5 separate regions of the Homo sapiens genome follow, and all the other regions are linked to region 5. The links are contacts of gene promoters, found by promoter capture Hi-C in blood cells and fetal thymus (Javierre and others, 2016). All regions are on one chromosome and are shown on one strand. The core of a region is centred on a gene start or on the middle of the fragment in contact, and the rest is flanking DNA. Distances in the headings are between cores, read along the strand shown. Region 1 overlaps ALOXE3 (arachidonate epidermal lipoxygenase 3). Region 2 has its middle 18 kb from the start of ALOX15B. Region 3 holds the start of LOC124903919 (a long non-coding RNA gene). Region 4 overlaps CCDC42 (coiled-coil domain containing 42). Region 5 holds the start of KRABD2 (KRAB domain containing 2).

The links. The method cuts DNA at HindIII sites, captures the fragments that hold promoters and counts their contacts. A CHiCAGO score of 5 or more calls a contact.
Region 1: a fragment that was not itself captured here is called in contact with the fragment with the promoter of KRABD2 in region 5 in 1 of 17 cell types (neutrophils); the score reaches 5.1 in neutrophils.
Region 2: a fragment that was not itself captured here is called in contact with the fragment with the promoter of KRABD2 in region 5 in 2 of 17 cell types (naive B cells and total B cells); the score reaches 7.0 in naive B cells.
Region 3: a fragment that was not itself captured here is called in contact with the fragment with the promoter of KRABD2 in region 5 in 1 of 17 cell types (total CD4 T cells); the score reaches 5.1 in total CD4 T cells.
Region 4: a contact is called between a fragment that was not itself captured here and the fragment with the promoter of KRABD2 in region 5, in 9 of 17 cell types (total CD8 T cells, naive CD8 T cells, naive B cells and 6 more). The highest score is 7.4, in total CD8 T cells.

Annotation. Positions count from the first base shown.
Region 1 is chr17:8,100,289-8,106,143 of GRCh38, forward strand. It overlaps ALOXE3 (arachidonate epidermal lipoxygenase 3), which reads right to left. Exons shown (of 16, transcript NM_021628.3): 14 at 3,827-3,927; 15 at 3,035-3,205. Among named protein-coding and RNA genes, the nearest start is that of MIR4314, 15 kb to the left of the region's middle. The HindIII fragment of the contact is 4,448 bases long and covers 1-4,383 here.
Region 2 is chr17:8,054,409-8,060,351 of GRCh38, forward strand. No RefSeq gene overlaps it. Among named protein-coding and RNA genes, the nearest start is that of ALOX15B, 18 kb to the left of the region's middle. RefSeq lists enhancers at 3,269-3,786, 3,270-3,339. The HindIII fragment of the contact is 2,579 bases long and covers 2,744-5,322 here.
Region 3 is chr17:8,876,096-8,881,396 of GRCh38, forward strand. It overlaps PIK3R5 (phosphoinositide-3-kinase regulatory subunit 5), which reads right to left. Exons shown (of 19, transcript NM_001142633.3): 18 at 4,810-4,922; 19 at 2,821-4,691. The coding sequence ends at 4,544. It overlaps LOC124903919 (a long non-coding RNA gene), which reads left to right and starts at 1,287. Exons shown (of 3, transcript XR_007065610.1): 1 at 1,287-2,209. The HindIII fragment of the contact is 927 bases long and covers 2,736-3,662 here.
Region 4 is chr17:8,735,275-8,740,562 of GRCh38, forward strand. It overlaps CCDC42 (coiled-coil domain containing 42), which reads right to left. Exons shown (of 7, transcript NM_144681.3): 5 at 116-337. Among named protein-coding and RNA genes, the nearest start is that of CCDC42, 6.9 kb to the right of the region's middle. RefSeq lists an enhancer at 3,558-4,058. The HindIII fragment of the contact is 3,288 bases long and covers 891-4,178 here.
Region 5 is chr17:8,374,564-8,380,133 of GRCh38, forward strand. It overlaps KRABD2 (KRAB domain containing 2), which reads right to left and starts at 2,141. Exons shown (of 2, transcript NM_001304947.3): 1 at 1,337-2,141. It overlaps RPL26 (ribosomal protein L26), which reads right to left. Exons shown (of 4, transcript NM_000987.5): 3 at 5,233-5,373; 4 at 2,953-3,129. The coding sequence ends at 3,001. RefSeq lists an enhancer at 1,780-2,331 and a silencer at 2,076-2,275. The HindIII fragment of the contact is 1,665 bases long and covers 949-2,613 here.

The sequences.
Region 1 (5,855 bases), core at 910-3,409, 270 kb before region 5:
GAGACCCCTTGGAGAGTCCTGGGGGATAAGACAGCATATGGAGAGAGAGAAAAACCACACAGGTGCACTGAGGCCCCAGACATGTGAGCAAAGCCTTCTGGGAACTTCCAGCACAGCCCAGTCACCAGCTGATTGCATGCAAGTGTTTCACCCTAGCCAGTACCCTCTGGACTGCCCAGCCTAGCCCTGCCCAAATTTCTGATCCAGAGAATCTTAAGAAAAAAGAAATATGTCTGTAGTTTTTTTATTTTATTGTATTGTGGTTTTTTTTGAAATAACAAGTTTTATGTTTTTAAAATCAGATTGACATCTAATTTCTTTTTTTCTTTTCTTTCTTAAAGATGGGGTCTTGTTATGTGGCCCAGGCTGAAGTGCAGTGGCTATTCACAGGCATGGTCATGCACACTGCAGCCTTGAACTCCTAGCCTCTAGGAATCCTCTCTCTGCGGCCTCCTGAGTAGCTGGGACTACAGGCCTGTGCCATTGCACCTGGCTTAATACTTGATTTCTAAAACTGTAGTATAGCCATCAAAAAAACAGAACACACACACACACCAGAGAAAGAAAGAGAAAACACAGCAGAAGACAGAAATATGACACTGGATTCAAAGCCTACTTACTAGCTCTGTGCTGTTGAACAAATTGCTGAATCTCCCTGAACCTCAGTTTTCTCCCCTGTGAAGTGGAACTACCATTTATTGAACATTTATATGCCAGCACGGTGCCAAGCTGCTTTTTTTTTGTTTTTTTTTTTTTGAGATGGAACTTCACTCTTGTTGCCCAGGCTGGAGTTCAGTGGTACCATCTCAGCTCACTGCAACCTCTGCCTCCCGGGTTTAAGTGATTCTCTTACCTCAGCCTTCTGAGTAGCTGGGTTACAGGCATGCATCATCATGCCCACCTAATTTTTGTATTTTTAGTAGAGATGGGGGTTTCACCATGTTGGCCAGGCTGATCTCGAACTCCTGACCTCAGGTGATCCACCCACCTCGGCCTCCCAATGTGCTGGGATTACAGGCGTGAGCCACCACGCCTGGCTGCCAAGCATTTTAAATAGAGCTATGTATTTGGTTCACATTTTAAAATCATGTACACAAAGGATCTGATTTAATAACTGAGACATGATGGCTCCTCAGTGACAGCTGCCATTATTATTGTTGTTATAAATTTCCAAGTTAAACTTTCTATAGTTTATAGGAGAGAGCCCTCCACCCTCATGCTGTTGTCTACTTATCTGTCATCCCTCTGGGACCAGATAGGGACAGGACCCAGAGTCCTGCCATTCCCAGGATATAAGGTAGCAAGTTAAAACTTGCCAGGAAGATCAAATATGTGGGATCTTTCTTTTTTTGTTGTTTTTTTGTTTTTTGTTTTTTGTTTTTGTGTCACCCAGGCTGGCGTGCAGTGGCGTGAACATGGCTCACTGCATTTTTTTACTTCCTGGGCTCAAGTGATCCTCCCACTTTAGCTCCCCCCAAGCAGCTGGGACCACAGGCACACACTAATACGCCCGATTAATTTTTGTGTTTTGGGTAGAGACAGGGTTTCACCATGTTTCCTAGGCTGCTCTTGAATTCCTAGGCTCAAGCAATCCACCGGCCTCAGCCTCCCAAAGTGCTGGGATTGCAGGCACGAGCCACTGTGCCCAGCAACATCTGGAATCTTTCCAGCACCAAAGGGAGTCAAGCGTGAGAAATAAGAATATTCACCTGTTAGAGAGCTTGTGTGCAAGACGGCTGGGTGGAAACAAAGATGATGGGAACCAGTGATAAAGGGCTACTTGCCTGGCCTAAACTCAGATATTGGCCCCTCTCTAGCCTCCTGCCTCCAAAGTTGCCCTTTGCATCCATTCACGCAGCCACAGGAGCACCCTAGCTAAAGCAGATTTAACCATTGGGCCTCAGGCTTAAAAGTCTTGATTGGCGGCCGTGCGCGGTGGCTCACACCTGTAATTCCAGCACTTTGGGAGGCCAAGATGGGTGGATCACAAGGTCAGGAATTCGAGACCAGCCTGGCCAACATGGTGAAACCCCATCTCTACTAAAAATACAAAAATTAGCTGGGCACAGTGGTGGGTGCCTGTAATCCCAGCTACTCGGGAGGCTGAGGCAGGAGAATCGCTTAAACCTGGGAGGCGGAGGTTGCAGTGAGCTGATATCGCACCATTGCACTCCAGCCTGGGTGACAGAGCAAGACTCCATGTGGGGGGGTGGGGGAAGCCTTGATTGGCTACCCTTTGTCTTCTAAACGAACACTGTGCAGACAAAGCCCTACCTTCCTCTCCGCTCTGCTATTTCCATTTGTGATCCTACAAACACACCAGTGATTTCTCGCCTTCGCTCCTTGGTCCTGTTCTTCCCCCTCCCTAAAAAAGAGCCCTGCTCTTCCTCTCTGTCCAACTCCTACTTGTCCTGCAGATTTCAACTTAGATGTCACTTTCTCCAAGAAGCCTTCCTGGGTTCCCCCAGACCCATTTAGGTTCCTCAGGGCCCTGTCCTTACCCCTATCACTGGACTGTAAGCTCACATGGACAAGTTTCATAGCTGCCCATAACAGTGTCTGGGTCACCACTGGTACTCAGGAAGTGTGTGTTGAATGGAGAAATTAACATATAAGTAACTCCTACAACACGGTGGTGCCCTTTTTCATTGACCTGTATGTCTCCTCAACTAGACCACAGGCTTCTTGAAGGCAGGAAGGTCTCAGCCAGCGTTATAGGCCTGGTGCCCAGTGCTGTGTGGACACATAGGAAGTATCCAACAAATGTTTATTGAATGTTTGCATTAACACATGAGTAGTTGATGAATGAACATTCGGATAAATGGATGGACGGACAGATTGGTAACTAAACTGGTATTTGCTTCAGTCTATGTCTTTTGGGATTATCATTTTCTGAAGAAATTGAAGAACCCAAGGCAGTTCTGCAGTGAACATAAATCCCGTCGATCAGTCCTCAAGCCCCCAGACGAAGCCACCACCACCCCTACTGGTGGCCCTAAAGAACCCTACTCCCCTCAACATCCCGTATACACACCTGGTCCTTGGGTTCTTGGCTAACCAACCAGAAGAGGAGGAGGTTGTTACAGCTGATGTTCACTTCAGGGAGGGTGTCTAGGTAAGTCTTCAGGGTGGTGGTCCCCTTGGTCTGGGGTGGGGGCTGCCTCATGGATGATGGAGCATTGGGCATCCAGGCCCCAAAGTCATGCTGTGGAGACCCCCATCCCAGTTGGGTCAGTTGGCCAGAAGGGGAGTATCACCTCCCTCTTCACCATCCCTGATTCCACCTCTGCCGTCCTAGAGGTGATAGTTGGGAAATGAGGGGATCACGGAAAGGCAAGAGAGCTGGGAAATGAGGGGATCATGGAAAGGCAAGAGAGGAAAGGGTAGGGAGTGGAAAGTCCCAGAAGTGGGGCAGGAAGCCAGCTTACTCCTTGTCACTCCCCGCCCAGTGTTCCAGGACTCGGTGGGGTGAGTCACTAGGGAAGGAGGTGGCCCCAGAGTGGAGGTAATCCTAGAAAAGGGCCTTGGGTTGCCATGCCACACAGAGCAAGCTGCTACTCCACCTGGCTGGGTTCTAACCATGAGAGGAGCCCCTAAGTTCTTCTCCCAAATTAACATCAACTTGAATCACCATTACAACCTTGGACCCAGCTCCACCCAGTCATCACCCAATGCCAACCCTTCACCCCACTCAGCTGCCACTCCAACCCCAAGTCTAATCATAAACCCACCCCAACGCTGACCCACCCAAGCTCTCAACCCAAATTCAGGCCTCAAGTCCATTGCTGAGACCTGATGTCCCCAGGCCTGCCCTTTGTAGCCTCACCTGCCCACTGTTGACAGCAGCGTGCTGGGCAGAGCAATTGAAGATGATTGCAGTGAGGAACTTCACCATCTCTCCTGGGGTGCACAGCCGGCTTGGGAAACCTGGGTGTGGGGAGGAAGGGTAGAGGGTGTGGATGGAAGGTACTGGATTCCTAGGGCCAGCTCAGGACTGGGGCTCACCACAGGGGGAAAGTGAGGAAGTAGGGAACACCGAGCCATGACTGTCTTGTCGGGCTGGTTAGGGATGGCCACCACCAAGATTTGTGGTCTCTGAAGTGGGTCAGGATAGGAGATGGGGGCTGGGATCTGGCCAGAAAATCCCCGGCAGGCAGGGCCAATGACAGAGGCAGCTTCAAGCCCAAGTGCCCAGCTGCCTCTCCCTGACTTCCAAGGCACTTCAATCTGCAGCCCCTATTAGGATGTAATGATTTAATCCTACCCGGTTCACCAAGATTTGTTCAAGCACCCAGTATCCAACCATCCTCTGCTGGGCTTAGCAGCAGAGACCCACGCAGAGGGCGTGTTACTGAAAAGCTCACAGTAACAGAAGCAGAAGGAAGCTTCTAAGACCAGAGCTTGGCTCTTTGAGGAGAGGGCAAGCAGGGCAGAAAGGGGCACCAGGAGCAGAGTGGTTAGTGGAGGCCTCCTGGAGGACAAGAGGGGCCTTGTGAGTTGAAAGATGGATGAGCCTCCAATGGAAAAAAGACAACAGAGAAAAGCATTTCAGGATTGGAGAGGGGAGAGCTCCAAGGCTCAGCCCTTGGTCCATTCATGCTGTGCCTCACTCATCTCATCCAAGTCCATGGCTCTAACCACCTCCCACTTGCCAACAACTCCCAAATTCCCTTCTCTGGCTGTGCCTGGCGTCTGAGCTCCAGACTCAGCCGTGGGCATTACCCTGGAGGCAGCTTACCTGACGTCCCCACCTAAGCATCTACACCACCTCACACTGCACACTGGCAAGGACAAATGCCCGTCAGATTACGTCACCCCTCGCTAAAACCCTCGGAGGGCTTCCCATCTCACTCACCTTGTCATGGCCCTACTTGATTGGGCCCCAGCCCCTTCTCCCACTTCATTTCCTTCCTGGCTGTTCACTTATTCGACTCCAGCTGTGCAGGCCTTCCTGATAGTTCTCAAATGCACCAGCACATTCAGAATTCAGGGCCTGCACACTTACTATACCTCTGCCTGCTACTCTTGCCCCAATTATCTTCAGAACTAGCACCTCTCCTTCCTTCAGCTACTAATGCATCAGCTCCTGAGAGGCCTGCCCTGGCCACCTCCCTGAAATGATCTCTTTACCTTGACACACTGTATCCCCTGATGCTGTTTCAGTTTTCCTCTTAGCATTCATAACCACCTGACATGTGTTTGTTGATTCTCTCTTTCTCTCTCCAAAAGAATGTTAAGCTCAACTAAGGCCAGAATTTTTGTCTTTTTCACTACTAAACCTCAGCACCTAGAACAATACTTAATAAATACCAAGAGCCCGGTAATTATTGGTTGAATGAAGGAATGCATGAGAGGGTAAGAAGCCAGAGCATGGGAGGCAGAGGTGGGAGGATTGCTCAAGCCCAGGAGTTTGAGACCAGCCTGGGCAACATAGCAAGACCTTGTCTCTAAAAAACATTTTTTAAAAAGGTAACTGGATGCAGTGATGTGGTGGTGCATGCCTGTAGTCCCAGCTACCAGGGAGGCTGAGGCATGAGGATCACTTGAGCCTGGGAGGTCAAGGCTGCAGTGAGCTGTGATCACACCACTGCACTCCAGTCTGAGCATCAAAGTGAGACCCCGCCTCAAAAAAAAAAAAAAAAAAAAAAAGCCAGAGTAGGAAGGCACGGGGTATTAACAGGGTGAGGGAACAGGGAGGGGACCTAATTGGAGGTGAGGCTGCAGAGGCATGCAGGGCCATGTGGTTTCTGGGCAGTATTTCAGAGGATTAGCAGGGTGGTGGCCCTGCAGGCTTGGCGGGCAAGCAGCGAGAGGCTGGGAGAGGTGGGACTGGTTGAGAAGCAGCTGCCACAATT
Region 2 (5,943 bases), core at 2,783-5,282, 320 kb before region 5:
TGACTCACAGCAATCTCCCCTGGAAACACCCTCACAGACACAACCAGAAATAATGCTTTACCAGTTCTCTCGGTATTCCTCAATGCAGTCAAGTTGGCACTTGAATGCATTAATGATGAAGTGTTATATAATATAGGTAGAAAACAAGTCACACCATGAGAAGCACATGATCCCTTTTGTTTTTTGTTTTTTGAGACGGAGTCTTGCTCTGTCACCCAGCGAGACATGCCACCATGTGGCATGATCTCAACTCACTGCAACCTCCGCCTCCCGGGTTCATGCCATTCTCCTGCCTCAGCCTCCCTAGTAGCTTGGACTACAGGCGCCCGCCACCATGCCTGGCTAATCTTTTTTATTTTGAGTAGAGACAGGGTTTCACCGTGTTAGCCAGGATGGTCTCGATCTCCTGACCTCATGATCCGCCCGCCTCGGCCTCCCAAAGTGCTGGGACTACAGGCGTGAGCCACCGCGCTGGGCCCCCTTGTGTGTTTTTTTTTTAAGTGAAGTATGTAAATCAATAGAAATGGCAAGGAAAGATCTGGAAAGAAGGATGCACACCTAGCTGTTGCTTGAGAAGGAGAGTGGGATTGTACAGCAGGGCCACATTGAGGAGTAAAGAAGTGGGAGCCTTAAACTAAGAGAGAGAGAGAGAGAGAAAGAGAGAGAGGTGAAACCCTGAAAAGGAGATCTATTTGATTGCTTGAGGTACTCACAGGGAACAGCCTTGTTAAGAAAAATTATCCAAAACTGATGAATAGAATCAAGAGGACAACTGCCTGTCCTTTTAAAGATGTTTTCTTTTCTTTAATTTTTGGTTTTCCTTCTTTCTTTTTTTTGGGGGGGTGGTTTCTGGTTTTTGAGACAGAGTCTCACTGTGTCACCCAGACTGGAGTGCAATGGTGCCATCTCAGCTCACTGCAACCTCCGCGTCCCGGGTTCAAGAGATTCTCCTGCCTCAGCCTTCCAAATAGCTGGGATTACAGGCACCCACCACCACACCCGGCTAATTTTTGTATTTTTAGTGGAGACGGGGTTTCGCCATATTGACCAGGCTGATCTCGAACTCCTGACCTCAAGTGATCCTCCCACCTCGGCCTCCCAAAGTGCTGGGAGGGATGCTTTATTTTCTAGCACGGCATACCACTGTTTGACTTTTCTGTGTGTTATTAATAAAGGCCTCGATTTATGTGAAGTTCATGTAAATGATTTGTTCCTTTTTTTAAAAGCAAATAAACTGGAGATTATAGTTCATTGCTCTGTAGAATGTTGACTAGTTTCATATCTAACCCAACAATCGTGTCCTAACATTCCTTTATTAAATTGCCTGTAAGTGCCCGGCTCCTCAATTGTTCTTGAAACCAGCATGACCATCTGGCTGAGTCGAATAAAATATTTGACTTGTGAACATTCTAATTTGTATGAACCATGTTTTTAATTTGTTTGAAATCCCTCCCAGGGTGGAGGGAGAGCTGCTTGTGCCACCCCAGAACAGTGCCTAGAACCCCAATCCCTTCTTCTCTCTGCCAGGTCCTCTTCCAGCCTCCTCTTTATCTTTGTGCCCGCCTTCCCCTCACCGCACCCCCATCCATGTTGGACATCCCAGGGGTGCCTTTGCTCACTACCCCAGGGAATGAGAAACAGACTCTTCTGTCCCCACCCGCATCCCCCACTGACCTAAGAAGGTGCTGAAGCCTGGGACAGAGACAAAAGTGGCAGAAATGGAGAGGGATGTGTGGGTTGAAATAGGGGGCTTGGATGTGGGCCCAGGTGGTTGAGGACCAGCCTACACTGTGCCCATTTAAAGATTAATAGTATATGCTTTAGAATAGTGCTTTACTAATATGATTATGAATCATAAGTATAATAGCTTGTGCTTAGTACAACAATAAGAGAATCAGGCGGTGAGCTTGCTTGACTGACCACAGAGTGGAACAAACAACCACAGGAAGTCTGCGGAGCCTCTGAGCAAGAAAGTTGGCTTATTGCTCAACCTTCCACTTGAGTGCCTGAACAAAGGTCTCATGGGAAGGGAAGCGACCCCTGCTCCATTACCCGGGAGGGTACTGCAGGAGGCTGCTGGTAAAAGAGGAGAAGTCCTCTGCAGTAGGGTTAAGGAGGAAGCCTCCTATCTCCCGCATGTTCCCAGAGGCAAAGCAGCTGCTCTGCTGACGGTGCTCAGGCGTTGACCACTCCTTTGATGTACAGGCCTGTGGGTTTGAAGGGCTGTTTGCTTTCACGTCCTGTTCTGTTCTATTAGCCGCTTAGTTGGACTCTGATGATTATCTGTAAGTTAAACATAGAGTATTAGCTTACGTAGTGGAACAGTAAATAGTATTAACTGGCTAATGACCGACACAGCAGGCTCCGCCACCTCTCCCTATGCTCACCCAATGATCACCTCACCATCAGCCCACCCTCAGCCTATAGGATCAAAGGAACTGTACTCAATAAATATCAGTGGAACCCAGAGCTCCTGGCCTTTGCAATCTCCACGTTGCGATGGATCCTTGGACCCACTTTTGTTAACTCTTAAACTTTGTGTCTTTGTCTTTATTTCTTTTCTCATTCCCTCGTCTCCACCGGGAAGGGGAGAGCCTGCGGGTGGTGTATCAGGCAGGTTCCCCTACATCTTTGGCACCCAACACGGTCTCCTTGAACCCAGGTGAAGTTACACCTGAGCGTGGTCGTTGTGAAGAACGGTCTGTCCAGGAACTCCCGAGAACGTGTGGTCGGCCTTGCGGTAAGCTTGTGCACTCGGAGCATTCCAGGGACACCATGGGACAATCCAAAAGTAAACATTCTGCATATTTACATTTTATTAAGCTCCTCTTAAAGAGGGCAGGAATTAAGGCTAGCACAGAAAATTTGATTACTCTGTTTCCAACAGTAGAGCAATATCGTCCTTGGTTTCCTGAACATGGTACCATGGACTTCAAAGATTGGGAACAGGTGGGAATTGCCTTAAAACAAGTTTGTAAGGAAGGAAAATTTATCCCCCTAACAGCCTGGTCAAACTGGGCTATAGTTAAAGCAGCCTCGGAACCGTTTCAATCGGAAAATGAGGCTTATCCTCCAGCAGAAAGAATTTCTGCAGAGGAAGGTGGTGATGCTGCTGAAGGAGGAGAGGATAGTGAAGAAGATTTTGAGGAAAATACAGACAAACCTGGAGATGAGTTAATTTCTTTTGAGGAGCACGTGGGACCTTCAGCTGCTCCTAAAATAGAGAAGCCATATATGCCAAGATGTTTAAAACAAAGAAGGGCCTTGAGGAGCAGTCGGCTCCTCATTGGGATCATCCGGAGTGGCCGCCTCCAATAAAGCAATGTAGCTTGGAGCCTTGGAGGTCTGAATCTCAAATTTGCCCTGTTTCACGAATGAATGAATTGTGGCCTCAGGAACCACGAGCGCATGGTGTAGCACCAGTACAACATAAGGCTGCACTGCCATCTAATGTTAATGAATCGCCATTACAGTTTACTATTCGGCAGGCTAGATTAGCCGGAGATCTTGATGCCTGGCAGTTTGCAGTAGTTTTGCAACCCCCACGACAGCAAGGTGGAGCCCATCAAGCGGTATGGGAACCATTTTCTTTTAAGCTGCTCAAAGATCTTAAAGCAGCTGTTGGTCAGTATGGTCCCAATTCGCCTTTCATCCGATCGCTATTGCAATCTGTGGCTCAGAATAAGCTATTGACTCCGTGTGATTGGGAGATTTTAACGAAAGTTACACTTTCGCCCTCCCAATTTCTTCAGTTTAAGACTTGGTGGACCGACGAGGCTCAAAATCAAGATCGAAAAAACCGTGCTGCTAATCCTGCTATTGCCATTACATTTGAACAACTTCTAGGAATAGGGGGTCAATGGGGAACTGTAAACAACCATCAGGACTTCGAGATGATGCCATTGAACAAATTCGCAATTGCTGTTTGAGGGCATGGGAGAAAATTCAGGATCTGGGAACTACTTATCAGTCTTTTAATTCTATTAGACAAGGCTCAAAGGAACCATATCCTGATTTCATTGCTCGCCTTCAAGACGCAGCACAGAAGGCTCTCACTGATGAAAGTGCCAGGAAGGCCGGGTGCGGTGGCTCATGCCTGTAATCCCAGCACTTTGGGAGGCCGAGGTGGGCGGATCACCTGAGGTCGGGAGTTGGAGACCAGCCTGACCAACATGGAGAAACCCCGTCTCTACTAAAAATATAAAAATTAGCCGGGCGTGATGGCACATGTCTGTAATCCCAGCTACTCAGGAGGCTGAGGCAGGAGAATTGCTTGAACCCAGGAGGCGGAGGTTGCGGTGAGCCGAGATCACGCCACTGCACTCCAGCCTGGGTAACAAGAGCGAAACTCCGCCTCAAAAAAAAAAAAAAAAAAAGAAAGAAAGAAAGAAAGTGCCAGGAAGGTGATTGTAGAATTATTGGCTTGTGAGAATACTAACCCTGAATGCCAGTCAGCTATTCACCCAGTGAAAGGAAAGGTTCCGGTGGGAGTTGATGTGATTAATGAATATATCAGGGCATGTAATGGAGTTGGTGGAATCATGCATAAGGCTATGATAATGGTTCAAGCCACGACAGAGTTAAAAGTGGGAGGTCCAATTAAAAACTTTTCAGGCAATTGTTACAATTGTGGGCAATTTGGACACACAAAAAAGGAACGTAAGAACAAATCGAACAAACAGGCAAGATATAATCAAATAAAAGAACCACCTGGCTTATGTCCCAGGTGCCAGAAGGGTAAACATTGGGCTAATCAGTGTCACTTCAAATTTGACAAAAATGGCCAACCGTTACAACCGCAGTCGGGAAACAGGAAGAGGGGCCAGCCTCAGGCCCCGCTCCAAACGGGGGCATTCTCACTCCAGCAGTTGGTCCCTCAGTCGGTCATTGCCTCTAGTCCAACCACCATCATTGTCTCTTGCCCAACCACCACAGTAACACAATTGGCGCCAGCTACAGCAGGGAGTACAGGCTTAGATTTATGTTTCCCAAAAGCTATCTCTCTGCTTCCAGGGAAATCCCCTCAAAAAGTCCCCACTGGAGTATTTGGCCCTTTACCTGATGGACAGTTGGACTTGTTTTAGGAACATCTAGTCTAAACTTAAAAGGAGTTCAGATTCATACTGGGCTGATTGATTCAGATTTTGTGGGAGAAATTCAATTGGTTATTAGTTCCAGTATTCCTTGGAGTGCAAACCCAGGAGATAGAATTGCTCAGCTGTTGTTATTACCTTATGTAATAGTAGAAAAAAGTACAGTAAAAAGAGAAAGTGGTTTTGGCAGTACTGACAGTGAAGGAAAAGCAGCCTATTGAGTAAATCAAGCTTCTAAAAACAGACCTGTGTGCACAATGATTCAGGGAAAACAGTTTGAAGGACTGGTAGACACAGGTGCTAATATTTCAATTATAGCTCTAAATCAGTGGCCAAAAGCGTGGCCCCGACAAAAGGCTTCTATGGGCTTGATTGGAGTAGGCACAGCATCTGAAGTCTATCAAAGTGCTACAATTTTACATCGTTTAAGACCAGATGGGCAGGAAGTCACCATCCAACCTATGATTACTTTCATTCCCATTAATTTGTAGGGGAGAGATTTGTTACAGCAATGGGGTACAGAAATCACCATTCCCCCTGCAATTTACAGTCCTGAGAGCCAAAGAATGATGACCAAAATGGGATATATTCCTGGGAAAGGATTAGGAAAAAAATGAGGACGGAATAACCCAGCCGATTGAGGTCTCAGTTAAATTTGACCGAAGAGGAATTGGATATCCTTCTTAGGTGCGGCCACTGTTGAGCCTCCAAAGCCCATTGCATTAAAACGGAAAACTCCAAAACCTGTTTGGGTTGATCAGTGGCCGCTTCCTCAACAAAAACTGGAGGCATTACATTCATTGGCAAAAGAACAATTAGACAAAGGACATATTGAACCATCTTTTTCACC
Region 3 (5,301 bases), core at 1,949-4,448, 500 kb after region 5:
GGATTCTAGTTTCAGTCCCCTACCTCGGCCCCTTTCCTCAGTGTTCAATGACTCGGATTACAAAAGCTCATGGACTGGATGAGACATTCTGGCTCAGAGCCCCTTTAGCCTATAACCACTTGGCCCATGGATTCGCCTACAGCTCATGGTGATAGTATCCAGGGTATGTGTCTGACCAATAGGGGATCCATTCTTAGGTCAGCCAGTGATTTTTGTGAAGTATGGTTTAAAGAATCTTCTGTCTGGGCGTGGTGGCTCATGCATGTAATCCCAGCACTTTGGGAGGCCGAGGTGGGTGGATCACCTGAGGTCAGGAGTTCGAGACCAGCCTGGACAACATGGTGAAACCCTGTCTCTACTAAAAAAATAAAAAAAATTAGCTGGGTGTGGTGGCATGCGCCTGTAGTCCCAGCTACTTGGGAGGCTGAGGCAGGAGAATCCTTTGAACCCGGGAGGCGGAGTTTGCAGTGAGCTGAGAATGGGCCACAATGTTCTATCAATTTCAGTAACATCAAATTTGTTAATTGTGTTGTCCAGATCTTGTATATCTCTATTAAAATTTTTTGTCTATGTGTTCTATCAGCTATTGGGAGAGATATGTTGACCACTGTGGTTGTGGAGACTTCTAGTTCTGTCCATTTTTGTTTTATATTTATATTTATATACAGTTTATATTTATATAGTGACATGTATTTATATTTATATATAATTTTCAGTTGTTATTTGGTGTATATAGCTTTATAACTGTAATACCTTTTGTTGGACTCCTTAATCTTTATGAAATGTTCCTCTTTATTTTTTGTAATGCTTCTGCTGTTAAATCTTTGGATATTAGTGTATTGACACCAGCTTTTTTGGTCCGGTTTTGCATCTTTGGATATTAGTGTGTTAACACCAGCTTTTTTGATCTGGTTGGTTTTGCATGGTGTGATTCTTTCCATCCTTTTGCTTTCAACCTTTCTGTGATGTTATATTTAAAGTGTGTCCCTTGTGAGCAGTTTATAAGTTTTTTGTTTTGTTTTGTTTTGTTTTTGAGATGGAGTCTCGCTCTGTCACCCAGGCTGGAGTGCAGTGGTGCGATCTCGGCTCACTGCAAGCTCCGCCTCCCGGGTTCAGGCCATTCTCCTGCCTCAGCCTCCTGAGTAGCTGGGACTACAGGTGCCCGCCACCGCACCCGGCTAATTTTTTGTATTTTTAGTAGAAACGGGGTTTCACCGTGTTACCCAGGATGGTCTCGATCTCCTGAACTCGTAATCTGCCTGCCTCGGCCTCCCAAAGTGCTGGGATTACAGGTGTGAGCCACTGCGCCCGACCGCTGCAGTTTATAAGTTTTTTTTAAAAAAGTATTATCAGACAATTCTGGGTGTGTGATTCCAGGTTAGTAGGTTTGTTTTTTCCCCTCATACTTTAAAGATATCATTTCATCATCTCTGGCTTCCATTGTTTCTATTGAAAGAGAGAGTTCTCAGTTTAATTGTTGCTACTTTGAAGATAAAGTGTATTATTTTCCTCTGTCTTTAGTATTTTCTTATTACCTTTTTTTCTTTAGAAGTTTGACAGTAAGGGGTGTGTGTGTGTGTGTGTATGTGTGTGTGTGTGTTTAAGAAAAAACTGAACTCCAGATTGTATTGGGATTTTACCAGTTTTTGGATTAATGTTTCAGGATACAAGCCAGTGTCTACTGCTTATTTTTCAGGTTTACTCCATCTCTTTTTGTTTCTCAGTCTTTCCTTATTTTTTGTGACAGTAAGAGAGTACTGGTCAGGTTATCTGGTCCCATAGTCTGGGTTTATATGATCTTTTTTACTCTTGATTAGACTGGAGTTATGGAAAGAACATCAAAGGTAAAGTGCACTTCTCATGTGATTTTGTTTTTTTCTTGTGTGGAGATTCCTGTGTCAAAATTCCTGTGCAAAATTTGCTGGGTTTATTAAGTCTGTGGGTTGATGTGCTTCATCAGTGTTAGCCAATTATTGGCAGAAGGAATATTGTTCTTGTTCCAGGTTCCATTCCTAGGAGGCATCGCGTGTCTCTGCTTGCCTCTCATGCTGGTCCAATGTGTCTGAAAGACCAACGAAGCAGATCTGCACCCATCCTGCAGCTTGGAGCCAAGCCACTCTGAGCCCAGCCTAGATCAGGTGGTCCCTAGATGTCCTCCAGATGCATGAGCAAGAACAAATGATCGGAGACTTAGTTCCCTGAATTGAAGGTATGCTTCATTGTTTGCAATAGCCAGCTGATGCAGAGCTGGAACAGCTCACAGTTCTTTCTCCCTCCATCCTGAATAGTGTTCTGGCAACCTGGTACTTACCTCCCTCTCCCAAGCCACAGGTGTCCTCTACCATCCCTCCACTTCTTCTTCTCTCTTTCCTTATCACCCAAGTCTAAAGGCAGTCCCAGATCCAAAGGGCCATTATTGAGCTCTCTTCCCCTCCTCTCAGCTGCATGGTAGGTCCAGGATCCACTGTGCCACCCATCCGCAGCAACGGCCTCAGGCCCGTCCCCTCCCTGGAGCTTGGGGTACAGGAAACAGATGGATATATGGGTATATATTTCTCAAGTGAAGTAGCACAGGAAACCCCAAATGCTGAGTCCTTAGGTGTAGGAATTTTTGTTCTGTGGGTCAGTGAGTATGATGAGGCTTAAGCAGAACAGTATTGGGGAAAATTTTCACCCAAATATATTTTCTATAGGGTGGAAAATTACAAAAAGAGAAATAAAACAATCCCCTATGAAGCTTCTTTCTGGTATAAATAAAATGATTTATATAAACTGTCCAACTAGCAGGGTCATGCAGCAAAGTAACTACTGGTCATTAAATATAGGACAAATCAAGTTTTATTTGACAATAATATTAAATTCCACTCATTAGTTCCTGGACATCTGTTGATCACATAATAAGACAACCTGCCCATACAGCAAAAACATATTGAAGATACATGGCCCGCCACTCTTCTGGAGCTTAGAGCAAGAGCAGACATTAAGACAGGGGAGAGACGGCCAGGCAAGGTAGAAGCTGGCTCTGTCCACGTCTCTCAAGTCATGAGTACTCTGGGCTGGAATTTCACGTAAGGCCTTTTGGGCATAATGAATTAGGAGGCGGGGAAGAGGGACTTTGTGCAGGATACAGTTCATGCTTCCGTGGCTACTTTCTCCACATCAGTCCAGATCCTCGTCTTGACTTCTGCCCTATCTCTCTAGCCCATGTTTGCTTCCAGCTTCTCAAACCACTTCAAGCTGGTTGCTTTGAATTTCAGACTCTCGTGTCCTATCCTAGGCTGACCATTTCCCATGCACCAGTCCCATTTCCCCTGAGTCGGGCACTAAGCTCTGTGAGGCCAGTCACTCCATCCTCTGTTCTGGGATCTTGCCCAGGTGCCAGAAGAGTGCCAGTGAACTTGCGGATATGGAAGATTGTACACGCAGAGTGAGATGGGAGTGGGAGGGCCAATCTGATACAGAAGGGGGTGAAGGGTAGGGCCCCTGAGCAGCCCACCCCTTACCCTGACGAAGGCAATCCTCCTCTGGAATGTCTCTTCCCTCTTCAGTCTGGGTTCTGCCTCAGCCACGAACTGGGAAGGAGTGAGGAACATCCCAACGGCAATGAGAGTATCCCAGTGACTCCAAACAGGAGGAATCAGTGTTCAGAAAGTCAGGCACTAAGCTTTACTGAACACCTACTGGGAGCTCGGCACTGGGCTAGGTGCTTTGCAGACAATTTAACCTTTTAAGGATGTCTTATTTCCACCCCAACTCTCCACTCCATTTTAGTGCTGGAGAAATGAAGGCTTAAAGTTAATTAACTTCCTCTAGTGATTTAGCTAGAACTGAGCTGCTACTAAATTTAACCCTATCCTGTCTTCTAAGAATCTCAGATTCCAAAAGGAGATCAAGAGAGAATCTGTGCCGGGTTCTGAGAGTAGACAGGTCCAGCGTTAGTGCTGTTTTTCTGGAGACTCAGGAAACTTGAGAGAAATTATTGAGGTGTGTGCGTGTGTGTGTGCGCATGTGCGTACATGCATGCCATGTGTGTGTGGTGTTTGCAGGGAGAGGTGGTCTTGAAGTAGAGAAATGTTTCATCCACATTTCAATCACCTGAGCCCCACAGAGGAGGGGACTGAACTCCAGACATACAGGGTCCTCAAGTCTTTGGCAAAGTAAGGGGTAGGCTCAGCCAAGGTTGAGAGAAAAGGCCCAAGCCATCCCCCTGAGCACCAGAGCCTCAGATCTTCCTTCTAGAAAGGATCCTAGACCATGCTAATGGTCAGGGACTTCAGAGGTCAATTTACCCATCCTTCTCCTTCTACTGCCAGGAATCTAAGAGGCTATGGGGTCTGGCCCTTCTCTCTCTGATAGCTGTTGCTTTCCCAGAACCCTGAGGCCCCAGAAACCCTCTACTCCCAGCCCCTGCTCATTGCAGGACCCACAGTGGGACTATGGCTCTGCACAGGGCCATTCAGTTCTCCACAGAGAGGGACTGTCCTGGAGGGGTGGCCGAGGAGGTTGCCCCAGGGCTTCTGTCCAGTCTGGCGCTGGGCCCACACTAGGGCAGAGCTCCACTGAAAGTCATGATGGGCAGGCAGAGAAGGGAGCAGAGATCAGGTGCGGCCTGGGCCGGCAGGTCAGGAGGCGTCTGGGGTGGTGAGGAGAGGTCGCTCTTCTCTGGCTTGTAGCACGGTGAGACCTCACATCTGTGCAGCAGGGCAGGGGCCAGGGATCAGAGCAGGCCCCCATCCTTCCAGCTCCTTCCAGGCCTCTGGGTTGGTGGGAGCAGAAACTGCTCCCCTCCCTAGGACCCCCCTTTCCTACCTGACTACACTCTGCAGGATCTTTCTCTCATCCTGGTCCAGGCACACAGCAAAGGGGCAGCTGTTGGAGCCGATGATCTGCACCTTGTCCACTTTGATCTGCGATGTGCTAATCTGGAAGGAAGGCCCAGGTCAGCCCCAAATCCCTGGCCATCCAACACTGCCAGCCCCTGGCAGTTCCTTTTCTCAGAACTGCCCATCCACTTCTAGGGGTGTGGGAGGGCAGGGGTTTGTCTGACTGCGCTCCAGGGTTAATGGCCAGGTCACAGGAGGGAGCCTGAGGCCTCCATCAGCCCCTGCCTCCTCTCCAGCATCTGGAAGAAGCAAGTGCCCCCTGAGGAGACATTGCCCTGCCTGCTGCCCTCACCGGAGCAGCCCCAGGTCCCCTGATCCAGAGCCTGCTTTCTTTGGTCTCAGAGTCTTAGGACTCTCCTGGCACCCACCCCACAACTTTTCCACATACACGCGTCCTCTCACAGGGCACCCCTACCTC
Region 4 (5,288 bases), core at 1,285-3,784, 360 kb after region 5:
GGGCATGAGCACAGCATGTGGTGTGTGTGTGTTTGTGTGTATGTGTGTGTGTGTATGCTCAGGGCCCGCACTCACCCAGTGCCTGGGAGCCCCCGGCCCGCCCCGGGCCCCTCACCCAGAAGATGACATTGCTGCGGGCACGGTCAAAGCGCATCTGCAGCCTTGCCAGCTCATTGTTTTGCTGCAGGATCTCATCATCCTTTTCCTCCATGTAGCGCGCCAGCCGGGCCTTGGCGCGCTCAATCTTCTCCTGGCCTTCCTGCGCAGACTGCATGAGGTCGTGGCGCATGCTCACCAGCGTCTTGTAGCGTGCAATCACCTCATGGATCTCCTCGAACTGTGGTCAGGGGCTCAGGTCAATGCACAGCCAGCCCCTGGGGCCTGAGGGAGCCACCCAGTCCTGCCAACCTCCAGCCTGGATGCCTGGACACCTGGACACCTGGGCAGGCAGGCCCTTGGCCAGGGTCACGGCCAGAGGCTGTGAGGGACACTGGGGTTCCGCTGCCTGCTTCTCCTGGGTTTGTACGGGCCACGGTCCATTTGTTGGGCAGGGGGATGCACAACTGGGCTAGGGATTTTCGACTTTAACTGCATGTGAGAATCACCTGTAGGGGCTTTAAAAAGGACACCTGCCAGTCTCCACCCCCAGAGATTCAGATGAATAAACAAGTCTTCTGTGGTCTCTGGCATCTGAATTTTGCAAAAGGTCCCCTGGTGGCTCTAGGCACAGCCAGGGTTGATAATCGCTGATGGAAGGCATTTTGCAATGTCTTCCAAGGCAAGAATTTCCTATTCAACAAGATTGTACCAGGAACCACTTACAAGCCAGGAGCTATGCTAAATGCTAGGGAAATAGCAGGAGTTAGGAAAACCAGATTCTGCTCTTAGGAAGCTTACAGCTTGGGGGGTGGCATGGAGGGAGGACAGACAGACAAGTAAACAGTCAGTTACAACAGCAAGATAAGCCCTATCTATGACTGGGGGATAGGGCTGGAGGGGACTCTGGGAAAGCCTTCACGTTGGTGATCTCTGGTATTTGTTCATTTACTGAGGGAGAAGCAGGGATAGAGAGGGTGCTGGTGGGGCAGGTGGCCTGCCAGACTCAGCTCACCTCCCCCAGCCTGGTCCAGAACCATGCCACTCTGGCCCTAACCCTCAGGTCCCACTCAGTGGAACAGAAGCCATGAAACCCACGCTCTTTAGAAGGCAGCATGAACACCAGTTCTGTGATACCAAGTTGCCTTCCTAGGGGCTTATCAAAGCATGCCTTTCAGCCGCCCAGGGGAAACTTCCCGAGCACCTTCTCCATCTCGTGACATCTCCAGTGATGGATGCGTGTCCTGGGAACTGCCCTGCTGGCCTTTCCCCAAATATGCCTCTTTGGGGAAGGGCCACCCAACCCAGCACGGAAAGAGGTAGGAACAGCCAGAAAAGGTTTCATGGGAGAAAGTGTGGCTGAAATGAGATGAGAGGTATATAAATAGAAGATAGCTAGCAAAAGCAGGTGTAGGGAGGTGAGGCAGTGCTACAGGTGAAGGAGACAGCCTGGGCAAAGATGAATGGAATAGGGGGTTGTATGTTCAGGATGCTGAAGGTAGCCTGAGTTCAAGATGGGGAGGGAGAGACTGAGAAGAAGAAGAAAGGAAGAAGAAAGCAGAAGAAGAAAGAAAGAGGGAAGGAGGAAGGAAGAAGAAGAAGAAGAAAGAGAGAGAGGGAGGGAGGGAGAAAGGAAGGAAAAGAAAAAAAGAAAAGAAGAGGGAGGGAGGAAGGAAGGGAAAGAAAAAAGAAAAGAAAAAGGAAAGAAAGAAAAAGAAAAAAAGAAAAGCAAGCAAGCAAGCGAGCTCAGTAAACCTTGGGAAGGAGTGTGGACTTTATCCATTGAAGGATTTTAAGAAACAGACAATTCACGTGTGCATTTCTGAAAGTTCATCTGGCACACAGTGCAACAGTGTACCACAGTTCAAATAAATGGACCACATCAGAGCTACTAGGAACACACCTCTAAACTTAATGCTGATGTCAAAAGGATTTAGGTGCCAAATCGAAGAGCCACCCACTGCCCAAAGATGAGATGATTTGAACATTAGTAAGAATAAGTGCAAAGGATTAAAACATATCAAATATGTTAAAAATCCATCAGTTCACAATGATACTAGAAACATTACAGGTCAGTGCTAGAGAACAAATTCATTATTCTGAAAACTAAATAAAGCATTTAACAAACTTTCTCTGCGAGACCCACATAGTAATCAAATGGTGGATGAAGGAAAGGATCTCTTTATGAAGTCCTTTTCTTTATGGTAGTATTCTAGCAAATAAATGAGGAAGGGTTGCTAGTGAGTGTCTTCCCCCGACCAGTGAGGAAACCAATATTCTGACTTCTATCAATAAAGATTAATTTTACCTGTTTTTAAACACATCAATGGAATCATACGATATAACCTCTTTTGTGTCTGGCTTAAGAAGCATACCAACTAAGGGCAGTGTGAGGACCTTATATGGACTCTCATTGGAACAAACCAACTGTACAAAAAGCATCCGTGCAATAATTTGTCTTAAAAGACAGGGTCTCACTCTATTGTTCAGGCTGGACTACAGTGGCATAAACACAGCTCACTGCAGCCCTGACCTCCTGGGCTCACGCAGTCCTCCTGCCTCAGCCTCCCAAGTAGATGGGACCACATGTGTGTGCCACCATTCCTGACTGATTTTTATTTTTTAATTTTTTGCAGATTTGGGGGGGGTCTCACTTTGTTGCCCAGGCTGGTCTTGAACTCCTGGGCTCAAGTGATCCTCCCACCTCAGCCTCCCAAAGCACTGAGATTACAGGCATGAGCCACCACGCTTGACCCATTTTGTGCAATAAATGATACTGATATTTGATGTTAAGGAATTACTATCAATTGTATAGTAGGTGTGACAATGGTGTAGTTATTTTAAAAAGAGCTCTCATCTCTTAGAGATACATACTGCAGAGAGACGCAAATGGATGAAAATATATTGTTTGCTTCAAAATGGCAGAGGTGGGAAAGTGTGGGGGATGTGACTATGAATTAATCATTATTAGAATCAGGTAATGAGCAACAGGTGTTCAATAGACTATTGTCTTTACTTTTGTGTATGCTTAAAAAATTCCGTATAAAAAGTTACAAAACATTAAATGTGACAAAATAATAAGCATGATTTGAGATTTTTTTTTTTTTTTTTTTGAGACGGAGTCTAGCTCTGTCACCCAGGCTGGAGTGCAATGGCATGATCTTGGCTCACTGCAACCTCTGCCTCCCGGGTTCAAGCAATTCTCCTGCCTCAGCCTCCGGAGTAGCTGAGATTACAGGCACCCGCCATCACGCCCAGCTAATTTTTGTATTTTTAGTAGAGACAGGGTTTCACCGTGTTGGCCAGGGTGGTCTCGAACTCCTGACCTCGTGATCTGCCCACCTCGGCCTCCCCAAAGTGCTGGGATTACAAGCGTGAGCCACCGCACCTGGCTATTTGAGAATTTTTGAAAGCAGAATACTCAAATAAAAAGTTACAAAACGTTAAATGTTACAAAATGTTACAAAATAATAAAAAGCATGACTTGAGAATTTTTAAAAGCAGGATACTCGTGATGTCTGAGGACAGGTGAAGAAACATAAGATTTGGAAGGACACAAAGGAGTTCATTTACTGGATTTCAATTATCGGTAGTGTTTGATTTAAGACAAAAGAACTGGGGGCAGATGGGGAAAATACGAAGATTTAGCAAAGCTGTGTGATGAGTACTTGGTTGCTGTTATGTGTGTCTCTATACTTTCCAGTATTCTTAAAGTATTTTGAACAAAATAAAGAAGAAAAAAGAGAAAGAGAGGGGGGCTGGGGGAATGCTGAACAGGCTGGCCAGGAACGACGCCAGAGTTGAACTCCAGACGAGGTACCACTGGTGGCCTGGATGAGGAAGGGGCAGGGGCTGGATTCCAGAAATACTTCCAAGGCAGAACAGACCAGATCTGCTGATTGATAGCTGTGGCACTGAGCAGGAGGGAGGAGCCAAGGAGGCCTGAGTTCTGGCGGGGCTGTGAGTGGGTGGTCCTGCCTTTCACCAGCACAGGTCGTCGCGCCAGCGGCAGGGCTGTCCTGGGGGTGGCAGGAAGCAGATGAGATGAGTGTGCATGGGATGAATTAAATATGGGGGTCTCAAGCTTAGGAGGGAGAGACAGGCCAATTTCCTCCATTCTAAGATATATATTTTCCCAACTCTGAATTCAAGACACATCTTACAATTTTTTTTTGGTTTGTTTGTTTTTGAGACGGAGTTTCGCTCTTGTCGCCCAGGCTGGAGTGCAATGGTGCAACCTCGGCTCACTGCAACCTCCGCCTCCTGGGTTCAAGCAATTCTCCTGCCTCAGCCTTCCGAGTAGCTGGGATTACAGGTGCTTGCCATCACGGCCAGCTAGTTTTTGTATTTTTAGTAGAGACGGGGTTTCACCATGTTGGCCACACTGGTGTTGAACTCCTGACCTCAGGTGATCCACCTACCTCGGCCTCCCAAAGTGCTGGGATTACAGGCGTGAGCCACCGTACCTGGCCACATCTTGTAATTCATCTGCAGTTTTAATCTGGTAGTCCCTCCTTACTTCCTGCCCCCCCAACAAACCCCAACTATGAAATGAACCACTGACCTTATAGTACGTAGCACCTTTGAGTGGAGGAAATAATGCAGAGGTGGGACTCATGCATGAGTAAATTAGGTTAGTGGTTTGATATGGAAATTGTGGGACCTTTAAACAGTTGTGCATCCTGTCGCCCCTTCCCTCAGAGGACATGGATCCACACCCCTGGAGGAGGTGCCTCCATCTGCCCTAGTGAGGGGATCTTCTGGCTGTTGGTCACATGGGGGAGGAGATAATGTGACATGGGTGGCATCCATGGGAGGCCCTGGACATTGCTAAGAAGAAAAGTGGAGGATCGCTCACGCCTGTAATTCCAGCACTTTGGGAGCCCAAGGCAGGCGGATCACGAGGTCAGGAGTTCGAGACCAGCCTGACCAACATGGTGAAACCCATCTCTACTAAAAATACAAAAATTAGCTGGGCGTGATGGCGGGTGCCTATAATCCCAGCTACTCGGGAGGCTGAGGCGGGAGAATCACTTGAAAACCGGAAGGTGGAGGTTGCAGTGAGCCGAGATCAAGCCACTGCACTCCAGGCTGGGCAACAAAAGTGAAACTCCGTCTCAAAAAAAAAAAAAAAAAAAAAAGTGGAGGATCTGAGACAGAGAACCTGGACCCACCACACAAGAAGGAGCTGG
Region 5 (5,570 bases), core at 891-3,390:
TATTGTCCTATGACCGTGCCAAATCCCCCTCTCTGAGAAACACCCAAGAATGATCAATAAATACTAAAAAAAAAAAAAAAAAAAAAAAAATTGAATGATTCGGCCGGGCGTGGGGGCTCACACCTGTAACCCCAGCACTTTAGGAGGCGGAGGTGGGCGGATTACAAGGTCAGGAGATCGAGACCATCCTGGCTAACACGAGGAAACCCCGTCTCTACCAAAAATACAAAAAATTAGCTGGGCATGGTGGCGAGCGCCTGTAGTCCCAGGAGGCTGAGGCAGGAGGATGACATGAACCCGGGAGGTGGAGCTTGCAGTGAGCCGAGATCGTGCCTCCGCACTCCAGCCTGGGCGACAGAGCCAGACTCTGTCACAAAAAAAAAAAAAAAAAAAAAAAAAAATTCAATGTTTCACCTATATTTACAGATTGGGAGATTTCACATAAATCTCGATTTCTTTCTTTTTTGAGACAGAGTTTTGCTCTGTCATCCAGGCTGGAGTGCAGTGGCGCGATCCCGGCTCACTGCCAGCTCCGCCTCCCGGGTTCACGCCATTCTCCTGCCTCAGCCTCCCGAGTGGCCGGGACTACAGGCACCTGCCACCAGGCCCAGCTAATTTTTTGTATTTTTACTAGAGATGGGGTTTCACCGTGTTAGCCAGGATGGTCTCGATCTCCTGACCTCGTGATCCACCCGCCTCTGCCTCCCAAAGTGCTGGGATTACAGGCGTGAGCCACTGCACCCAGCCTCGATTTCTGGCTTTCTTGAAAAGGCAACATTCTGGCTGCACTGGCGGCATTGCTGCCTGGCAATAACTGGCTGTGATGGAGAGGCGGCATCTTCCTTTGGATCAAGCTTGTCCAACCTGTGGCCTGTGGGCTGCACGCAGCCCAGGACGTCGGGACCTACTAACCTATTCATCTTACTTGCCCACTCCTGCACATTTCTAAGCTTTCAATATCTTTTTTCTTTCATTTTTTTTTTTTTTGAGAGGGTAGGGTCTCACTTTGTCACCCAGGCTAGAGTACAGTGGCATGATCACGGCTCCCAGGGTCAAGGCATCCTCCTACCGCAGCCTCCCAAGTAGCTGGGACTACAGGCATGCGTCACCAGACCCAGCTAATTTTTTCTTTTCTTTCTTTTTTTTTTTTTTTTGTAGAGACGGGGTCTCATTATGTTGCCCGAGGCTTCAGTATCTTTTCCAAAGCAACATGAAAGAAATGTGACCGTAAATCAATCAGCTTCTTGGTGTGATCTATGTGACGGCTAGGTGATAAACGAGTTGGTCAGAGAAAACTGGAAATATTTCCAAAGCCATGTTTACTCCCTTCACCCACCTGTGAGTCTTCGCCTTGGCTGTTTCCGACTCGGAATGTCCTCGCATTGATCCTCCCAATCACAGCCAGCTGAAACCAGCCTCCTTCCTGACGTATTCAGTAACTTTAGCTGATTGCCATCTCTCCTTCATCTCAACAACCTGTACCACACTCACTGGAGCACTTCGCTTTGCATCTTTAGTCGACCAGTTCAGATATATACAACCTATAAGGTAGGGACGGAGGCTTCTACCTGCCTGTACCCCCTTTGGAGGGCCCACGAATACAGAGCTGAGCACAAAAGATGTTTAAAGGACATTTTGTCAAAAATGTCGCTTACAGGTAGGTCGTTATTAGCAAGGTAGAGCAGCGGTACGGCCGAGTCTACGCTTGGGAATTCATTTGCTGACTCTTATCATTTACTGACTAAAGCAAAGTTACTGAGGCCTCAGTTTCCTCATCTACAACCCGGGGAGATGACCAGTACCCATCACAATCGATTGCTATGAAGATTCAATGATAATGCAGATAAGGCACTTAATACAGTGTCCCCTCACCGTCCACACCACACGGGCACGCCCGCTTATTCCTGAGGACCGGGCTGGGATGTCGCCTCCTTTGTGTAGCCTTCCTACCCTGACTTCGCAGACTGCTCCCACCGCCTGGATCCATGCCCGTCCACCCGCCAGCTCAGGGCTGAACGGCTGAGGCGGGCGCGCGGTGGAGAAAAGAGCTGCAGACTGAGGAAGGTCAGGAAGGAGAAAGGGACACACCAGACGCGGCGTCTGAATCCCCCTCCACCCAGAGGCCCCCGAGCAGCAACTCCGCCCCACCTCCCGCCCGCTCCGCCGGAAGCCGGTCAGCGCCAGCCGGAAGCCCCGCCCCCTAGAGGCACCGCGGACACCGTGCAGCGCTGTTCACCCAGATGCCAGCTGTGACCTTGGCTAAGCCAGTGACTTAACTCGGGCCCGTTCCCCATTCCCACGTTGTTGCCAAGTCTCCAGCCTGGAAAGTAAACGGGCTTCAGGTGTCCTGTTTAGATGCTTAAAATGAGGAACGGCAGGAGCACACACACTGCTGCCACCTCACACCTTTTCACTTCATCCTGACGAAGCTGCAGTTTAGTTTATATTTTAACTCAAAGACGTGTTAGGTTTTGGTTTGATGGCACTCATCCAGCACTTGTGCAGAAAACAAGGTAAAGGGGGCCCATGGGTCTATCAGATAACCTGAACCCGAGACCTCTCAATCTGGAGGAACAGCTTGAAGAAGTCATCTAGAAGCTATAAAGTCACAGAAGCTTCTTATCCTATTGAAAGCAAGACTTCCTATCCAATGGCAATACAAACTTTTACGCAGTAAGGTAAAAAATATAGCCTGTCCATATAGCAACCTATCCATAGTAAGCAAGTTAAAAGACAGGTTCAAGAGGAAGTGTTTCCAACTAGCTTTTCTTGTAGGCCTTCTTCTTCTCAATGACACCCCTCCAGCTTCTGATATATCCTCAAATGCTGCTGCCCACTATAAAAAAAATCTCATCAGTCCTGATTTCAGAAAAATTTTAGACCAACAAATCAGAGGTAAGAGACTGATCCACTGAAAACTAGGGAGTGTCCTAAATCACCACACACAAAACACAGGCTCTTTGTTTCAAGTTTTAATCAAAGCTTGTATATAAGATTACTTTATTCCTGCATCTTCTCAATGGTTTCTTCCTTGTATTTGCCCTTTTCCTTTCCTACTTGGCGAGATTTGGCTTTCCGTTCGAGGATCTTTTTGCGGTCTTTGTCCAGTTTTAGCCTAGTGATAACCACCTGCAGAAAAATAAGAAAAAAACACTCCCAAGCTTTAAATAATCACTAAAACACAAGGGAAAGCCCAACATTCAATACCATTTCCCAAACCTGGGGTAGGTGGATGCCTAATAAGAAAAGATTTTAACTTTTAAAAAACTCCAGAAATCACTCTTTAGCCATCAAACCTGGCTTATTTACTAATTTCCTACCAACAAAGGAGAAAAGGCAAGATGGTATCAGTAATTCTTAAAGCCTCTTCTGTGCTTCATTATAAGATTTGTTTCTTTTTCACTGAGAAATATATGATTCTGCTCTTCTCACTACAGTTTTACAAGCTGTCATATACAAATATATTTGTTTCCAAAGTAACTTCAGGCTGGGTGCGGTGGTTCATGCCCCCAATCCCAGCACTTTGGGAGGCAGAGGCAGGCGGATCACCTGAGGTCAGGAGTTTGAGACCAGTCTGGCCAACACGGTGAAACCCCTTCTCTACTAAAAATACAAAAATTAGCTGGGTATGGTGGCACATGCCTGTAATCCCAGCTACCTGGGAGGCTGAGGCAGGAGAATCTCTGGAACCCTGGGGGGGCGGAGGCTGCAGTGAGCTGAGATGGTGCTATTATTGCACTCCAGCCTGGGCGATCAATCGAGACTCCATCTCAAAAAACAAACAAGTAACAAAACAGCAGGGTGTGGTGAATGCCTACTCAGGAGGCTACTGCGGGAGAATCGCTTGAACCCAGGAAGCAGAGGTTGCAGTGAGCTGAGATCGCACCATTGCACTTCCAGGCTGGGCGACAAGAGCAAAACTCTGTCCAAAACAAAAAAAACCCCACCCCCAAACAGAAAAATAATAAAGTAACTTCAGAATTTTAATGCTAGAAATTAAAGGTAGCATCCACACATAATTCCACCTGCAAAATCTTTAGTGAGAAGATGACAATACGATCTTACTCCAACAGTTCCAATCCTAAAAGACATCCAAATTATGATAAATTTTAGTCTTATGAATGCGAGGAAAGGGTGAAAAGAGGTGCTGGAAATACAGCATGCAGACCAAACAAAAATCTCCACAGTCACTGAACTCATATTCTAGTATAGGGAGCCCGAAAACATTTACAAGTGAATCTACATCACTTTGATAGAGTAAGAAGGCAAGTGTGAGGAGGCCGAGGGGCTTTCTAGAGTGATCAAGCAAAGCCCTACATTTGAACAGAGACCTAAAGTGGTGAGCAATCTATCTATGCACAGGTATCTGGAAGAGAACAGCAAGTTGAAAGGTTCAAAGGCAGGAGATTATCAAGTTTCATAGATGTGTTTCTCAAACTTGAGTAAGAATCAACTGGAGGGCTTATTAAAACATACACCTGGGTCATAAGCCCTAATTTTGCCTCAGTAGGCCTGGGCTCTTAGAATTTATAATTCTACCAAGTTGCTAGGAGGCGAGCAGACTAGAACATATAGAATGGAAAAAGATGTCAGAAGTAAGGGAAGATCAGTTAAGGTCTTTATTTTTTTTCTTTTTTTTTTTTTGAGATGGCGTTTTCACTCGTTGCCTAGGCTGAAGTGCAATGGTGCGATCTCGGCTCACTGCAACCTCCGCCCAATATACATAATGGGACAGGCATGGTGGCTCATGCCTGTAATCCCAGCACTTTAGGAGGCTGAGGCAGGCAAATCACCTGAGGTCAGGAGTTCAAGACCAGCCTGGCCAACATGGTGAAACTTTGTACTAAGAAGTACAAAAATTAGCCGGGTGTAGTGGTGCACGCATGTAGTCACAGCTACACTCAGGAGGCTGAGGCGGGAGAATCGCTTGCACTTGGGAGGTGGAGGCTGCAGTGAGCCGAGATTGTGCCACTGCACTCCGGCCTGGGTGAAAGAGCAAGACTGTCTCAAAAACAAACTAACAGAAACATAATGACCGTTAACACTTTGATGTCAGAAACATTTTAAATGGTATTAGAATTTTCAATACAAGTGCAGTAGTATTTACTTTAAAATGTTTTTTTCCAGCACATGTAAAATCAAGGACTATTTCTATGGCCTTGCTCTGTAAACAATCATGTCAACAATAATTGCCATAATTTCCTTCTCTCAAGCATTCTCAAAAACACCTACCTTGCTGGGGTGAATGCCTACGTGGACAGTTGTGCCATTAGCCTTTTCCCGCTGCACCCGTTCAATGTAGATAACATATTTCTTCCTGTAAACCTGGACTACTTTGCCAATTTGCTGACCTTTATAGTGTCCACGTACAACCTAAGAGCAAATTCAAAAGTAACAAATATTTGAATAAAAGATTAACCTTGTAAATCAAGTAAACAAACTCATGCATACACCATTCACCCTATCATTATATTAAAAGGTTAAAAAAAAGAGCCCACTTCGGCAACCTGTAAGAAGTTGACAACAAGGAATCTGTTACTCCATCTCAAAAGCAGCAACAGACCAAGAGT